6 separate regions of the Homo sapiens genome follow, and all the other regions are linked to region 3. Evidence: promoter capture Hi-C in 16 types of primary human blood cells and fetal thymus (Javierre and others, 2016). All regions are on one chromosome and are shown on one strand. The core of a region is centred on a gene start or on the middle of the fragment in contact, and the rest is flanking DNA. Distances in the headings are between cores, read along the strand shown.

Region 1 (2,738 bases), core at 24-2,523, 400 kb before region 3:
CGGAGTCTCGCTCTGTCACCAGGCTCCAGTGCAGTGGCGCAATCTCAGCTCACTGCAACCTCCGCTTCCTGGGTTCAAGCGATTCTCCTGCCTCAGCCTCCCAAGTAGCTGGGACTACAGGCACGTGCCACCACACCCAGCTAATTTTTGTAATTTTAGTAGAGATGGGGTTTCACCATGTTGGCCAGGATGGACTCGATCTCTTGACCTCGTGATCTGCCCGCCTTGGTCTCCCAAAGTGCTGGGATTACAGGTGTGAGCCACCACGCCCAGCGCCCAGCCTATTTTCATCTTAATAATTTCTCTCTCTTTCTCTACTAGTCATATATAGTTGGCTACTGAGCACTTGAAATGTGACTAATGAGAATAACGAACTATTAAATATAAATTTTAAATATATCAGAACAGTCTCGTCATTGCAGAAAGCTCTACTGGACAACATGTTCTAGAATATAAGCTCCCACAGGGCAGAAATGTCTCTCTCAGTCATTACTGTGTTCTCAGTGCCTGGCATATAAAATATTTGTCATGCTAATTAGTCAACAAGCCAAAACGTCAACAGCTCTCTGTACACAAACACCTACTCTGTTCGAGGCATTGTGTTCCCTGACTTACATGCCTTAGCTCAGCCGTACCTGCTGGTATGTGTTGGTCGCGATAATTGGGCGGATCACAGGAGCCGCTGGGACCTGCATCGCTTCTACTGTGGGGACCGTGGGGACAGTGGGCACCGCAGGCACAGCAGTTGGGATTCCAGGTACTGGAGCCCCCAGAACTTCCTGCTCAAACCTGGAGGAGTAGAACAGACATCAGCGCTCAGGACCTCGTACCAATTTTGGAACTGTGGGTATATCGCGAGGGGACCCTCACCCCTGCCAACCTCTCCCCTATCCCCGCCCCCACAATCCCGAAGGTCCCACTTCCCCATGTTAGAGCCGTATCTCCGGCCTATCGAGGCCTGGAGGCTCCGAGATTCGGTGGCTCTGGCTCTGGGACGACTTTTATCACTCTCTGTCGCGGGCCTTACAGGGCCATCTCCGCCTCCATTTCCTTCAAGCGTTCCTCGCCGCTTTTGCCCGGGATGCCAGCGCCAGGACCCGGGACCACGGGTCCTCCTGCACCCGGGAGTCCCGGGGCTGGCCCCGCCCCAGCCATCGCTGCCGTCGTCGCTGTCGCCGCTACTACAGTCTCTGCTTAGCCGCCGCCGCTGGTTCTGCTGTCTACTCTCCCCCTTCGTCCGGGTGGGCTCCCGAGGATGACGTCCAGCAAAAGCGACGGGCGCTGGCGCATGACGTCATACATTCGGGCGCGAGAGCCAATGAGATTTGGCCACACCCTCAGGGGGAATATAGGCCAATCAGAGTGAGAGAAGGACACACGAACGCAAGAACCTGGGCCTATGAGAGCACAGCGGAGAGGCGGCCCCGCTTTCCTGGAGGACCACCGGCTAATGAGAGCGAAGCAAAGTCAGTTGGGCCCATCCCCAATGTGGAATCTGGACCTTTGAGATCGCAGGAAAGTTTGGAGGACCCTCCTGTGCCACCGCAGAGCCCGCGCCGGAAGTTTAAAAAGACGCTAAAGTCCGTGTCAACCCCAGGGTTGGGCAAGGCTGGGAGGCCTGGCTGGCCCCTCGGGGCCCCTATCCTGGAGTAGGTTGACACCCGACCTGTGGTTTCCAGGAAGACCGGAGACGCCCGGGAGGAAGCGCCTGACCCGGCTTCCTGGAGGAGGACAGCTGAAGACATTTAAAGATGAGAGCTGTTCAGGGTGGGAGCCAAGGCCCAGAGACTAGTGCAACTCAGAGGAGCACGTCCGTGGGCTTGGTCCCTGTCCTTTCTTGGGCCACAGCTGACCCTTTTTTTTTTCCCGTAGCCCTCACAAGTGTTTTATTCTGAGTATTTTCAAACATGCACATTAAGGGGAATAGTATAACGCACTCTTAAGTACATCTCAAACGCTACCAATATTCAACACTTCTGGATTTCACTTGATCTATACTTCTTTGTCACGCGCGTCCGTGTGAAGAGACCACCAAGCAGGCTTTGTGTGAGCAACAAGGCTGTTTATTTCACCTGGGTGCAGGCGGGCTGAGTCCGAAAAAGGAGTCAGCAAAGGGTGGTGGGATTATCATTAGTTCTTACAGGTTTGGGATAGGCTTATAAAGTACATTCTCAAGGGCGGGGAGAATGTTACAAAGTACCTTCTTCTTTTTTTTTTTTTTTTTTTTGAGACGGAGTCTCGCTCTGTCGCCCAGGCTGGATTGCAGTAGTGTGACCTCGGCTCACTGCAACCTCCACCTCCTGGACTCAAGGGATTCTCCTGCCTCAGCTTCCCTAGTAGCTGGGATTACAGGTGTGTACTACCACACCCGGCTAATTTTTGTATTTTTAGTAGAGGCGGGGTTTCACCATGTTGGCCAGGCTGGTAGCAAACTTCTGATCTCAAGTGATCCACTCGCCTCGGCCTCCCAGAGTGCTGGGATTACAGGCATGAGCCACTGCGCATGGCCTTATACTTTTCTTATTTTTATATTTTTTTGCTGGAGTATGTTAAAGCAAATTCCAGACATCAACTCAGTCATAAATGCGCCATTATGTCTCCTTAACAGATAAGAACTATTTTTTTTTTTTTGAGACGGAGTCTCGCTCTGTCGCCCAGGCTGGAGTGCAGTGGCGCGATCTCGGCCCGGCCGATAAGAACTATTTTTAAAAAATACCATTAACGCTGGGCTCAGTGGC
Region 2 (2,724 bases), core at 65-2,564, 460 kb before region 3:
AAGGAAGGAGAAGGAAGAAGGAGGAGAAAGGAAGAGGGATGAAAGAAAAGAGGAGGGAGGAAGAGGAAGAGGGAGGAGGAGGAGGAAGGAAGAGGAGGAGGGAGAAGGAGGAGGGAGGAGGAGGGAGGAGGAGGAGGGAGAAGGAGGAGAGGGTGGCAGTGGAGGTCACTCCCTATAATGTGGAGCATAGCAGCCACCTGCTGGTCACAGCGCAGTAGGAAGAACACAAAGCCCTGGAGTGAGGCAGAGGGGCCCTGGCTCCTCAGTGGCTCTCCAGCGCCCTCTATTGACAAAGCCTAACCTGGCACCAGATGACAAATGGAACTGAGAGGTAATAAATTGATAACCCACAGGTAAGTGATGGGGCCCCTGCTATTAATAAAAACAACAGTAATAATAACGACTACCATGGAATTCTCAGTGCTGTCTGTGTCATTTATCCCGGAATCGCTGGTGAAGGTTGATGGGGAGGGGGGATTGTGGTCCATTTGCCTCCAGGGTCGGCTCACCCTTCCCTAGGCTCAGGCTTAGGGTCTGAGCCTGCTCTGGGCAAGCACCCTCTCCCTCCTCCCAGACCAGACCCTATAGATGGAGCTGACTCCATCCCTGCTCCAAGGGCAGGCGTGTGCCCCGGAATCTGCACTTTCCCCAGCCCCACACGTGATGGCACAGCACAGTGTCAAACCTAGACAATGAAAAACATTCCAGAGGGGGCACCAGGCCCTCTCACCGTTTTTTGCTTTGTTTTGTTTTGTTTTTGTTTTTTGAGATGGAGTCTTGCTCTGCCACCCAGGCTGGAGTGCAGTGGCACGATCTTGGCTCACTACAACATCCACCTCCCAGGTTCAAGTGATTCTTCTATCTCAGCCTCCTGAGTAGCTTGGATTACAGGCACATGCCACCACATCTAGCTAATTTTTGTATTTTTAGTAGAAACAGGGTTTCGCCATGTTAGCCAGGCTGGTCTCGAACTCCTGACCTCAGGTGATCTGCCTGCCTCAGCCTCCCAAAGTGCTGGGATTACAAGTGTGAACCACCATGCCCAGTCATCTTTTTTTTTTTTTTTTTTTTGAGACTGTTATCTGGGCTGACAGAGTCAGTGGTGCCATCTTGGCTCACTTCAGCGACGACTGCCATACTCAAGTGATCCTCCTGCCTAAGCTTCCTGAGCAGCTGTGATGCAGGTGCTTGCCACCATGGCCAGCGATTTTTAAAAATTTTTTTATTGTTTTGTAGAGACAGGGTCTCACTATGTAGCCTAGGCTGGTCTCGAACTCCTCAAGCGTTCCTCCCGCCTTGGCCTCCTAAAGTGCTGGGATTACAGGCGTAAGCCACCGCGCCCCCCCGCCCGGCTAGGTTTTTGTTTTGTCTTTCATTCTTTTATTTTTCTCCTTAGCACTTATTAGCCTCTAACATGTGTTTTTCTTATTGGTTTTATCTATTTTCCCCTCTAGAAGGTAAGCTTTATTTATTTATTTATTAAGCTCTTTTAAATCTGGGAAGAGTTCCTGTAAGCTTTATTATCTGATTCCCAGGAAGCTTGTAGCCATTTTTCTAACACCAGCCAAGGACGCGGGGACCAGAGAGGAGGAATTGGTGGGCGTGGGACACCTGAGGAAAGGGCAGGGGTGTGTGTTTTTACGTTTTAGTTAAAAAAAAAAAAAAAGAACCAACTTGCCCTCATGGAAGGAGTGTAAGCAAAAGTGGATGTAGTCAGAGGCATGTGCCTGGCTTGATTGCTATATAACACAGTTTCTTATTTCCATTCTGTGATCTCAGATGGTGAGAGAGAGAGCTTGGCTCAGTGGAGCAAGAGAGAGAAAGAGATACCTGGAGAGGTGGCAAGGGGCCAAGCCACACGGGCCCTCAGTGCGAGGTGAGGAGGGCGCTGGAGAGCCGTGGAGGGTTAGAGGCTGAGGAGGGATGCAGTCACCTGGGGTGTGGGGGGAACAGCCATCAAATGGCTGCCTGTCCCTCAAGGGGTCCGGGCCCTGACATAGCCCTGACCTCTTTGCTCCCCTCTTACCCACAGGAGCCGGCCTCTGAGTTTGGGGGCTGGGGCGGACAAACCTGTCCTGCAGGCAGGCCCGCCTGGGTGAGGCCACGCTGCTGCCGGTCTGACTGAGCCACACTCTGCAGGTATATGGTAGGATGGAGCCCGAAAGCCAAGTGGCAGATGTGGGTCAGAGATGGCGGCCTACCTACCTGACTGCCCAGAGGTCAGAGGTCAGGTCAAACCCCGGCCTCCCATCTAGCAAGTCCTGGCCTATTATTATTATTATTGAGACGGGGTCTTGCTATTGCCCAGGCTGGAATGCAGTGGCACCATCACAGCTCACTACAGCCCCTACCTCCTGGGTTCAAGCGATCTTCCCACCTCAGCCTCCCGACTAGCGGTTACTACAAGTGCGCACCACTATGGCCAGCTAATTTTTAAATTTTTTGGAGAGATGAGGTCTCACTATGTTGGCCAGGCTGGTCTGGAAATCCTGGCCTCAAGCAATCCTCCTGCCTCAGCTCCCAAAATGCTGGGATTACAGGCGTGAGCCACTGTGCCCAGCCCTGACCTGTCTTACTGAGAGGTGACAGCGTGCTGGCAGTCCTCACAGCCCTCGCTCGCTCTCGGCGCCTCCTTTGCCTGGGCTCCCACTTTGGCAGCACTTGAGGAACCTTCAGCCCGCTGCTGCACTGTGGAAGCCCCTTTCTGGGCTGGCCAAGGCCGGA
Region 3 (2,700 bases), core at 117-2,616:
ATTACAGATGCCCGACACCATGCCTGGCTAATTTTTTGTATTTTTAGTAGAGATGGGGCTTCACCGTGTTGGCCAGGCTGGCCTCGAATTCCTGACCTCAAGTGATTCTCCCATCTTGGCCACCCAAAGTGCTGGCAAGTGCTGGCATTACAGGTGTGAGCCACCGCCTGAGAAGGTGTTTAGAAAAGGGGATGGAAGGAAAGGGAGCAACTGAGAAAAATATTTGTTGAAGATGTATTGAGTCATGCAGATGGCTGAGGGAAGAGACGGGGACCAGCATGTGCAATGGTTCTGGGGCAAGAGCCCCTCTGCCTGCCTGACAGATTCAGGGAACAGCGGGAGGCCAGCGTGGTTGGAGGGTAGGGAGTAGGGGGAAAGGTGCAGGAGGTCAGAACAGTAACCAGAGATAAATTTTTTTAAATTTTTATTATTTTTTTTGAGATGGAGTTTCACGCTTGTCACCCAGGCTGGAGTGCAGCGGTGCGATCTCGGCTCACTGCAACCTCCGTCTCCCAGGTTCAAGTGATTCTCCTGCCTCAGCCTCCTGAGTAGCTGGGATTACAGATGCCCGCCACCACACCCAGCTATTTAGTAGAGACGGGGTTTCACCACGTTGGCCAGGCTGGTCTTGAACTCCTGACCTCAGGTGATCCGCCCGCCTCAGCCTCCCAAAAGTGCTGGGATTACAGGCATGAGCCACCGAGCCCAGCCCGAGAGGATTTGTTTACTGCTTTATCCCCAGTGCTAAGAAGTGTGCCCAGAACATAGTAAGAGTTCAGGAAATATGTGTTGAGTGTTCACATGTGACACCTTCATGCTCTTATTTCATCCCTGGGAATGTAGTCTCACCCCTGGGAAAGGAAGCGGGGCAGGTAGTAGAGAAAACTCTGAATAGACAAATTAAGTTTGCTCCTTTCCCAGCAAAATGGAGGGCTTGGAATAGAAATTAAATATGGTCAGCGGGGCACAGTGGCTCACGCCTGTAATCCCAACACTTTGGGAGGCCAAGGTGGGAGGATGGCTTGAAGCCAGGAGTTCGAGACCAGCTTGGGCAACATAACAAGACCCCGTCTCTACAGAAAAAATTTTAAACTAGCTGGGCATGGTTAGCATGCACCTGAAGTCCCAGCTACTCAACAGGCTGAGGTGAGAGGATTACTTGATTCCAGGAGTTTGAGGCTGTAGTGAGCTGTGATTGCAGCACTGCCTTCCAGCCTGGGTAAAAGAGCGAGTCCTTGTCTGAAAAAAAAAAAAAAAAGAAAAACAGTGTTGTCAGCTTGTCACAAAACAAAAGGGGATGGTGACCTCACACACACATGTGGTAGCTGCAATTCATCCCACTGCCCAGGGCTGAGGCCAGAGTTCATGGGTGACCTCACAATGTTCGGGGTGGCACCAGCCCACTGCCACAGCCCCAGTCCACCATGCCACCCATGCTGTGGCTGCTGCTCCACTTTGCTGCCCCGGCACTGGGGTTCTACTTTTCCATCAGCTGCCCCAGTGGTAAGCAGTGCCAACAGGCCCTACTCTCAGGCAATGATATTCTCCTGTATTGCAACTCCTCGGGGGCGCACTGGTACTATTTATTCACACAAGGCAAGAAGGGCAGGCTCACCAGCCTCACCAATATTTCCAATATGGAAATAATGCCCGAGGGCAGCCTTCTCATTAAAGATCCATTGCCCTCCCAGACGGGCCTCTACCACTGCTGGAACAAGAATGGCCGCCAAGTGGTGCAGTATGAAATTGACTTTCAGGATGTCACCACCCTGCATATAACACACAAGGACCTGGGTCAGAGGCCCCTGCAGAACGAGACCCTGCATTTGGGCAGCAAACAGCTCATTTTTACCTGGTGGGAGCCCTGGCAGGACTGCAACCGCTGTGAGGAGCCGGGCGAGTGTAAACGCCTGGGGTACCGCTACATTGAGGAGCCTCTGGAGGAAGCCATGCCCTGCTGGCTCTATCTGGGAGAGGTGCTGGTGTGGTCTAGCCGCTTGCGGCCTGAGCTGCAGGTGGAAGCCTGCCACGTCCAGTGCACCAATAACACACAGTTAAGGGTGGATTACGTCATTTTTGACAACTTCAGGCTCGATGAGAAGACAGAATTTGTGTGGCTCGACTGTCCCTTAGGATCCATGTACAGGTGATGGAATCCCTGCCTCTGGCCCCTACCCAGATTCTTCCGGTCAGGGGATCCTTCCTGGTAATATGTGCAGAGGGATGAGTGGGCGTTCTTTGCAGTTCAGCCACGTAGTGGTCATCAGGACAGTGCCAGGCCCTGCTCTTAAACAGTCCGAGGGGGACACAGCCCAGGGTGGTGCGAGCCGGGATGGGAGAAGCCCAGGCAGACAGATGGGGCTGTGATGGGGGAAGCCCAGGAAGCTTAGGGGCTCCAACAGGCCCCTGCTTCATCTGGAAAGGTCAGTGAGACCTTGGAGGAGAGGCTGGTGCCCCCGGGGCTTCCCATCAAGGCCTGCCTCCCAGAACTCACACTCATCTTCTTACTTCCTGCCAGGAGCCTCTGGAAAATAGCCCCTTCCCCTCCTCTCCCCCAGTCCACCTGCCCCTTAATAAGAAATGCAGGCTGGGCGCGGTGGCTCATGCCTGTAATCCCAGCACTTTGGGAGGCCGAGGTGGGTGGATCACCTGAGGTCAGGAGTTCGAGACCAGCCTGGCCAACATGGTGAAACCCCGTCT
Region 4 (2,849 bases), core at 52-2,551, 260 kb after region 3:
TTCCTTACTGGGGAAAGAATTCAGCGATATTTCTCTTACCCGTTTTTGGTAATAGGAGAAATATGGCTCTGTCCTGCCCGTCCCACAGGCAGCCAGACTTTAAGGTTATCTCCCTTGTTCCCTGAAAATCGCTGTTATCCTGTTCTTAAGGTGCCCAGATTTCATATTGTTCAAACACACATGCCCTACAAACAATCTGTGCAGTTAACGCAATCATCACAGGGTCCTGAGATGACATACATCCTCAGCTTACGAAGATGACAGGATTAAGAGATTAAAGTAAAGTCAGGCATAGGAAATCACAAGAGTATTGATTGGGGAAGCGATACATGTCCATGAAATCTTCACAATTTATGTTCAGAGATTGCAGTAAAGACAGGCATAAGAAATTATAAAAGTATTAATTTGGGGAACTAATAAATGTCCATGAAATCTTCACAATTAATGTTCTTCTGTCACGGCTTCAGCAGGTCCCTCCGTTCGGGGTCCCTGACTTCCTGCAACAATGTAGTGTTATTTTTCCCATTTTATTTACTGGATTTCAATGAGAGTCCCTGCTGTAAAGTTGGAGCCAGCATTGGAGTCCCCAGAGGGCTTGTTAAAACAGAGAAGGAGGCCTGGCACCATGGCTCACTCCTGCAATTCCCAACACTTTGGGAGGCCGAGGTGAGAGGATCACTTGAGCTCAGGAGTTTGAGACCAGCCTAGGCATCACAGGGAGATCCAGTCTCTACAAAAAATTTTAAAATTAGCTGTGTATGATGGTGCACGCCTGTATCCCATCTACCTGGTAGGCTGAGGCAGGAGGATAGCTTGAGCCCGAGATGGAGGCTGCAGTGAGCTATGATCAGGCCACTGCACTCCAGCCTGGACAACAGAACGAGACCCATCCCCCCCGCCCCCCCCGCAAAAAGTAGAGAAGGCTGAATCCCATCCCCAGAATTTCTGAGTCCTTAGATTTAAGTTGTTGCCCCAGAACCTGCATTTTCAGCCAGTCCCCAGGTGATGCTGATGTTGCTGGTTTGAGAAGCCCTGAATCAGAGCGACATTTAATATTACAACGCAAAGACCCCGCCCATTGGGTACTATCCCCATTTTCCAGTGTGAATTTAGGTCCCTTAGGGGTGAAGCGGCTGGCCGATGCCCACACGCGCAGGAAGAGCACTGGGGCTCTCCTCCTGGACCTCGGAGGGTGGGCGGGGTTTAGCGCGGGCGGCTGCAGGCTCGGGAGCGGCCCCTTTAAGGGGAAGGCCCGAGGGCTGCAGGCGGCGGCGGTGGAGACCCGACGAGATCCGCTCTCCTTCCCGCCCTGGACCCTCAGCCTGACGAGAGGCTGGGCAGAAACTCGCGATCCCCAGGCCCTGCCTGTGCACCAGCGGCTGGCGCCAGGCCAATGACAGTACGGGAGAGGGCAACTCTCCCGGCCGCCACGGTGGGGGCCGGAACTTCCTGCACTGCAGCCTCGCAGGTCATTTCCCGGCGGGGAGGCTGAGTCCCCAGGAGCTGGGGACCCCGAGTTGGGGGCGGGGCGGCTGGGGCTACGCCCGTGAAGCTGCCCCGCCGGCTTTCCCGGACCGCGAGGGGGACAGTGAGGCCGGGACCCCCTCCGCGCCTTTGCACCAGCCGTGACCCCTTGCAACGGGGGTACCCAGCGGAGCTGCGCGCTCTCGGCGCCCCCGGAGCCTGCGCCCCGGGCCCCTTGCGCATTTTGCACGGGGGAGACTGAGGCTAGGAGTGCGACCCTCAGCCCGGGGTCACACCTCGTCTGGGGCACGGCCAGGTGGGTGGTAGCCTCAGCCTGCGAGACCCCCTACCCCCGCCCCGTGGTTTCCCGCACCGTGGGGCCCTGCTCTGACCACAGACTCCGATGGCAGCGGCGGCGCTGCGGGACCCCGCGCAGGTGAGTGCTTGGACGTTAGGCCCTTCGCTGTCGGCCCCCCACGCTTCTGTTCTCGGTGTTGAGACGCAAAAGATGGCTTTGTTCTAGGACTTTTCGCCTTTCCCATTTCCTTGCTTTTGAGTCAGGGGACCCTGGAAGGGAGTTGCTCCCAGCTAGGATCCTGAATCAGGGCAGGGTTTATATAAAGTGGCTTCCGTTGCTGAAATGTAATGGGATGGAGGGAGAAAGGGCTTTGTAGGCACAGGAACCAGCGTGCGCAAAAGCTTGGGGGTGGGGTGGGGCACGGTGTGGAGACTGAGTTGGGAGTGTTCAAGGAACCCCACCCAGGTCAGTGTTATTAATATTATGTCTGCTGGAACCAGAGAGCAGGTGGGCTGAAGACAGCTCAGAACGGCAGAGCTGGGCCTCTGTTCTGAGGGTGTTGGGAGCCATGGAAGGTTTAGGGCAGAGGAGGAAGATGCTGTGACTCAGGTCTTAACAGGCTCCCTGTGGATGCACAGTGGAGAACTGAATATGGAGTGAGCCGCAAGCAGGGATGCCAAGGAGTAGCCTAATGGAATAGCCCAGGCCAGTGCTGCGGCTGGCCGGACCAGAGTGAGGACTGGAGGTAGAGGAAGTGATTGGGAACTTGATGTCTTTTAAGTCAAGCTGACCAAATTTTCCGATGTGGAGGGTGAGAAAGAGGAGGGAAGAATCCATGGTTTTTGGTTTGATGAATCCAGCTTTATGAACTGAGAAGTTGGTTTTAGGAGGAATTTTCCATGGAAGCAGTAGAAGTTAGGTTTTGGCCAAGTTGAGCCTGTGATGTCCCAGAGACCCCCAAATGGAGTTGAAGAGTGGGCCGCTGAACACACAGTTCGGGTGTTCTGAGGGAGTTGTTAAGGTAATGAGAGACTGGATATTCATTCGAACAATGGCCAGATCATGTATACAAATAGAACTCTGCCCC
Region 5 (2,700 bases), core at 55-2,554, 360 kb before region 3:
GTGGCCAGGCAATGTTCCCAGAACAAAGAGGCGATGGGCTCTGGGGGACAGTGAGCAGTCTCTTGCCCAGCAGCTCCATTGACTTTCTACTGAGAATCCCCATTCTCCATGGTGGTGGAAACTTAGTTCTGCTAAATATTGTGCTAAATATTCATCTGGTTCTGAACTTGGGGTTGTCCATGAAGCTTGGGCATCAGAGGCAGCCCCGGGGTGTCTGTGGCCCATGGTGTCAGTCTAGATCTCTGTTTTGATTCATGCACGATGGCTCCCTGCTTATCCCTAGTTTTCCTCTACAGTTCTGTCTCCACCTGGCACTTGGGATTCCTATGGAACCCACCTTCTTCTCACTAGGCTGGGCCATGGGGTATCCTCCTTGGCTGTCTGAGGTCATTTCTTTGTAAATGTCTACACCATGTAGCATATCTTCTTTGAGAACTTGGAGCCTCTCTAGGCCTTATCTGTGAGGAGGGATTATAGATAACAGCTGGGGTCTCTGACGCCCCTCTTCCTCAGATGCAGATTCCAGGAACCTTATGGATGTACTATTGTCTAATCTCTCTCTACATTCCCTTTTCCATGAATGGGGAACCAATGCCTTTCTGGAGGGGGGAGAGGTGGTCTTCATCAGCTATTCTGCCAAAGCTATTTGCATTTCTTGAGGACTTTCCATTCTTCTCCTAAGAGCTTGACATTTGGATGTCAGAAGCTGGAAGAGGTTTCTGTTTTCTTATTGCTGCTCTGAGACACTAGACATCTCCAATCCCAGCTCAAATGAGAAGACCCCTAGAGAATAAACATCAGTTCAGATTTCTAAATATCATCCCCACATTGGCAATTATGCCTGCTTTAGAGACAAAGGAACTATGCTCAAGAAAAGTATCTGTTCAGGGCTATACAGTTTTTCAGTGTCAGAGGTAAGTTTTTAACTGACATCTGCCTGAATTCTATGTCTGTGGGCTTCCCCATTGGGACATTCTGATTTTCACAGTCTAGGAAACAGCTCCAGGGAAACACAGATACTGACCACTGACCCAGAAAACAATCATGGGCATGTTGACACACACACATACACACACACCACAGGAAACCAGAACATTCCATTCCAGTTTTTTGGTTTAAAATTCCTCTGAAAGAACAGCCCAGTGTCAAGGAGCTAAAGGGATCTAGGGCATGAAGTGTGGACCCCTAGGGTGAACGAAGACAGCTCTGGAGCTGAGTGAGTTGAAGTAGCACAGGCAGGTGGTCTGTGTGTTCCTGGGTTGGTGGGTTTCTTGAATGTTGAGTTCCTTGGTTAGAGGATTTCTTGGCTAGATGTCTCAGCGGTTGAATTTCTTGCCTGATGGCTGACTTGGCTGGTTAGTGTTTGGTGAGTGGCTCGGTTGGGGAGCGGACCCCTGGGTTGCTATGCCTAGACTTCATTAATATAGGACCAAGCCATAAATGATGCCTAAGCCAATCATTACCACGAATGCACCGAACCAACCAGTTCGGCCTGAGTTGATGTAAGCCTCTTCCCATTCACTGTTCTGGTTGGCCTTCATAGTCTGTAGGGGTGGAAGCATAGATGTGGGTTTCTGTGTCCAGGAACCCTGGGGAGAACGGTTGGAGACCTGCAGTCACTGAGGGAAAGCCCCTATGCAGGTCCCAGGATAGGAGCAGATGCAGGGGCCAAATGGAGGACAGGGTAGGCTGGGTGCAGTGGCTCACGCCTGTAATGCCAGCACTTTGGGAGGCCAAGGCGGGTGGATCACAAGGTCAGAAGCTCGAGACCAGCCTGGCCAGCATGGTGAAACCCCGTCTCTACTAAAAATACAAAAATGAGCCGGGCACTGTGGCTCATGTCTGTAATCCCAGCTACTCAGGAGGCTGAGGCAGGAGAATTGCTGGAACCGGGAAGGCAGAGATTGCAGTGAGCCGAGATTGCACCACTGCACTCCAGCCTGGGGGACAGAGTGAGACTGGGTCTCAAAAAGAAAAAAAAAAAAAAAAAAGGACGGGGGCTATGACTTGGGCATTATTTTACCTCATAAGAGAAGTACAAAGCTGCCAATCCAAATGGAGGGAATAAAAGTATAGCAAAGATGGTCAAACATAGGTAGTTTGGGGCGTAAAATGCTAGTTCCTCTGGTGTCTGTGTAGGCTCTTGCGGCTCCTGGGGCACCTCAGCTGGGGCACCTGGACCACCTGTGGTAGTGGGAGAACCTGGGGCAGCTGAAGCACCTGGATCACCTGTGGTAGGGGGGGCGTCTGGGGTAGCTGGCGCGTTGGGAGCAGGCTGGGTGGCAGAAGGTGGTTTCAGGGCCATGACCTTTCCCCTCAAAGACGGACTCCGAGTGTCTTGAAAACGGAGCGCCAGACCCACTAGGCTTCCCCTTGTACTAACCAGACTCCCAGGACCCAAACCATCAAAGGCTGAAGCTTCGCAATGGAGAAACCAGCACCCCACGTCCTGATTGGCTGCCTAGTTAGGGGGCGTGGCCCCGCCGTTCTCGCCCACCCCAAGACACAGAGAGTGCAGCCAATCAGGAAGTGGGCTCCGCCCACCCTGGTAGGGATTGGTTGGAAGCCTAAGTGGTGGCTCTCGGCTCCTCCTCCTCCCACTGATCTCTCTCTGCAGCCTGCGCGGATGGGCGATGTCAGGAGGGTCTCCCAGGAGTTGTGGAAGAGAGAAACTAGACACGCCCAGTAAGAGTAAGAGAT
Region 6 (2,737 bases), core at 152-2,651, 380 kb before region 3:
CCCTCAAGAGCTGTGGTTTTTTGATAGACCATGGTAGCTCAGATTAGATGTCAACTGAAGAATCATGAGGTTTTGATATGGTTTGGCTGTCCCCACCCAAATCTCATCTTGAATTGTAGTTCCCCAAATCCCCATGTGTTGTGGGAGGGACCTAGTGGGAGGTAATCGAATCATGGGGGTGGTTACCCCCATGCTGCTGTTCTTGAGATAGTGAGTTCTCACGAGATCTGATGGTTTTATAAGGGGCTTTTCCCTCTTTGCTTGGCACTTCTCCTTCCTGCTGCCATCTGAGGAAGGACGTTTTTGCTTTCTTTTCCACCATGATTTTAAGTTCCCTGAGGCCTCCCCAACCCTGCGGAACTGTGAGTCAATTAAACCTCTTTCCTTTATAAATTACCCAGTCTTGGGCAGTTCTTTTCAGCAGCGTGAGAACAGACTAATACAGGTTTACAAATTTGGAAAGGAGAGCTTTATTTCTCATAAAGAGTTGCAGCCTGCAGCCGGGCCATCTCACAGGCCGAGAAGTGTAGCCTCCGGTAGAAGCTGAGAGCAGGCACCTCCAGTAAGGGAAGGATAAGGTCAGAGTTAACGCTGAATGGCTTGGCTCAGTATACATATTCAACAGGTTATAGGAGGAGCTATGAATATTCATGAAGGGAAGGTACAGCACATGTGTAGTAACATCCCATATTCACTTTTTTTTTTTTTTTTTTTTTTTTTTGAGATGGAGTCTTACTCTGTCACCCAGGCTGTAGTGTAGTGGTGCGATCTCAGCTCACTGCAACCTCTCTTTCCCAGGGTTCAAGCAATTCTCCTGCCTCAGCCTCATGAGTAGCTGGGATTACAGGCACCCATCACCATGCCTGGCTAATTTTTTTATTTTTAGTAGAGACAGGGTTTCACCATGTTGGCCAGGCTGGTCTCAAACTCCTGACCTCAGGTGATCCGCCCACCTTGGCCTCCCAAAGTGCTGGGATTACAGGCGTGAGCCACCGTGCCAGGCCCCATGTTCACTTTGGAGTGGAGACTTAACACTTAAATGTATTACAATTAGGCCCTATACATCAAAAGGTGATGCAGAGGACACAAAGGCCCTTTGTGTGCAGCCTCTGTAGACTGGCCAGAGCCACACCCCGTGGTTAGGTGGCCTCTGATCAGGAAGGAATGCTGGTCAGTTGTTATGTTGAAACCACAAAAGGGAGGAGCAGCCATGTATTTCAGGCCATTGGTTGAAATTAGCAGTGAATGAGTCTTTCAATAGGGCTGGTTTCTGTTTAACCCTTAGGGAAGAAAGCTTCATGGCAGTCAGCAAGGGAGGAGGTAGAATGAGGTGTGCCCGACCACCCGTTCAGTCACGGCTAGGAACTCAGCTTTTAGTGTTTCTCTGTAGGCCCCTTGGCCAAGACAGTGTTCATTCAGCCAGTTGGCGGACTTAGGATTTTATTTTTGTCACGTGCGTCCGTGTGAAGAGACCATCAAACAGGCTTTGTGTGAGCAGTAAAAGCTTTTTAATCACCTGGGTGCAGGCGGACTGAGTCCGAAAAAGGAGTCAGCAAAGGGAGATAGGAGTGAGGCAGTTTTATAGGATTTGGGTAGGTAGTGGAAAATTACAGTTAAAGGGGGTTGTTCTCTTGCAGGCAGGGGCGGGGGTCACAAGGTGCTCGGTGGGGAGCTCCGGAGACTTATTGTCCAGGAGAAGGAATGTCACAAGGTAATGTCATCAGTTAAGGCAGGAGCTGGCCATTTTCACTTGTTTTTGTGGTTCTTCAGTTGCCTCAGGCCATCTGGATGTATACATGCAGGCTTGGGCTCAGACACCTGACAATTTTTATTTCTCACAGGTCTCTTATTTACAGCCTCCTGACAAGGATTCTTTGCTTGGCCAAACTTTAGTCAGGCTTCTGAACCTGGGCCGGGCCCAGTGGCTCATGCCTGTAATCCCAGGACTTTGGGAGGCTGAGGCAGGTGGATCACCTGATCTCAGGAGTTTGAGACCAGCCTGGCCAACATGGAGAACCCCAGCTCTACTAAAAATATAAAAATTAGCCGGGCGGCCAGGCGCGGTGGCTCACGCCTGTAATTCCTACACTTTGGGAGGCCAAGGCAGGTGGATCACCTGGGGTCAGGAGTTTTAAGACCAGCCTGGCCAACATGATGAAATCCCATCTCTACTAAAAATAAAAAAATTAGCCAGGCGTGGCGGCAGGCGCATGTAATCCCAGCTACTCAGGAGGTGGAGGCAGGAGAATCACTTGAACCTGGGAGGCAGAGGTTGCAGTGAGCCGAGATCATGCCACTGTACTCCAGCCTGAGTGAGAGAGCGAGACCCCGTCTCAAAAAAAAAAAAAAAAGAAAAGAAAAGAAAAAAAAAAAAAAAAAAAAAAGAAAGGCTGGGCACGGTGGCTCACGCCTATAATTCCAGCACTTTGAGAGGCCGAGGCGGGCATATCACGAAGTCAGGAGTTCAAGACCAGCCTCACCAACATGGTGAAACCCCATCTCTATTAAAACTATAAAAAATTAGCTGGTTGAGGTGGTGAGCACCTGTAATCCTAGCTACTCAGGAGGCTGAGGCAGGAAAATGGCTTGAATACGGGAGGCGGAAGCTGTAGTGAGCCAAGATTGCACCACTGCATTCCAGCCTGGGTGACAGAGTGAGACTCCATCTCAAAAAAAAAAAAAAAAGCATCTGAACCTTCTCCTTCTGTGCACTTCTTTGTAAAATCCAGTTGTAGCA

Evidence for each region. The method cuts DNA at HindIII sites, captures the fragments that hold promoters and counts their contacts. A CHiCAGO score of 5 or more calls a contact.
Region 1: the fragment with the promoter of RBM42 here is called in contact with the fragment with the promoter of FAM187B in region 3 in 1 of 17 cell types (total B cells); the score reaches 5.1 in total B cells.
Region 2: a fragment that was not itself captured here is called in contact with the fragment with the promoter of FAM187B in region 3 in 2 of 17 cell types (total B cells and naive B cells); the score reaches 6.4 in total B cells.
Region 4: a contact is called between the fragment with the promoter of ZNF792 here and the fragment with the promoter of FAM187B in region 3, in 12 of 17 cell types (non-activated CD4 T cells, total B cells, naive CD8 T cells and 9 more). The highest score is 16.2, in non-activated CD4 T cells.
Region 5: a contact is called between a fragment that was not itself captured here and the fragment with the promoter of FAM187B in region 3, in 4 of 17 cell types (naive B cells, total B cells, naive CD4 T cells and 1 more). The highest score is 6.0, in naive B cells.
Region 6: a fragment that was not itself captured here is called in contact with the fragment with the promoter of FAM187B in region 3 in 1 of 17 cell types (naive B cells); the score reaches 6.2 in naive B cells.

What each region holds. Positions count from the first base shown.
Region 1 is chr19:35,627,571-35,630,308 of GRCh38, reverse strand. RBM42 (RNA binding motif protein 42) reads right to left here and starts at 1,273. Exons shown (of 10, transcript NM_024321.5): 1 at 1,028-1,273; 2 at 636-789. The coding sequence starts at 1,155. RefSeq lists enhancers at 1,168-1,462, 1,611-1,850, 1,776-2,303. The HindIII fragment of the contact is 21,053 bases long and covers 1-2,738 here.
Region 2 is chr19:35,691,476-35,694,199 of GRCh38, reverse strand. No RefSeq gene overlaps it. Among named protein-coding and RNA genes, the nearest start is that of ZBTB32, 12 kb to the left of the region's middle. The HindIII fragment of the contact is 301 bases long and covers 1,164-1,464 here.
Region 3 is chr19:35,227,405-35,230,104 of GRCh38, reverse strand. It overlaps FAM187B (family with sequence similarity 187 member B), which reads left to right and starts at 1,366. Exons shown (of 2, transcript NM_152481.2): 1 at 1,366-2,146. The coding sequence starts at 1,425. The HindIII fragment of the contact is 8,324 bases long and covers 1-2,387 here.
Region 4 is chr19:34,962,681-34,965,529 of GRCh38, reverse strand. It overlaps ZNF792 (zinc finger protein 792), which reads left to right and starts at 1,301. Exons shown (of 4, transcript NM_175872.5): 1 at 1,301-1,900. The coding sequence starts at 1,868. It overlaps LOC124904699 (a long non-coding RNA gene), which reads right to left and starts at 2,104. Exons shown (of 2, transcript XR_007067236.1): 1 at 1,857-2,104. RefSeq lists silencers at 1,540-1,799, 1,910-1,959. The HindIII fragment of the contact is 6,406 bases long and covers 1-2,165 here.
Region 5 is chr19:35,585,865-35,588,564 of GRCh38, reverse strand. PMIS2 (PMIS2 transmembrane protein) reads right to left here and starts at 2,392. Exons shown (of 2, transcript NM_001395412.1): 1 at 2,024-2,392; 2 at 1,269-1,589. The coding sequence starts at 2,305. The coding sequence ends at 1,419. The HindIII fragment of the contact is 2,233 bases long and covers 188-2,420 here.
Region 6 is chr19:35,603,683-35,606,419 of GRCh38, reverse strand. No RefSeq gene overlaps it. Among named protein-coding and RNA genes, the nearest start is that of LINC01766, 7.2 kb to the right of the region's middle. The HindIII fragment of the contact is 210 bases long and covers 1,297-1,506 here.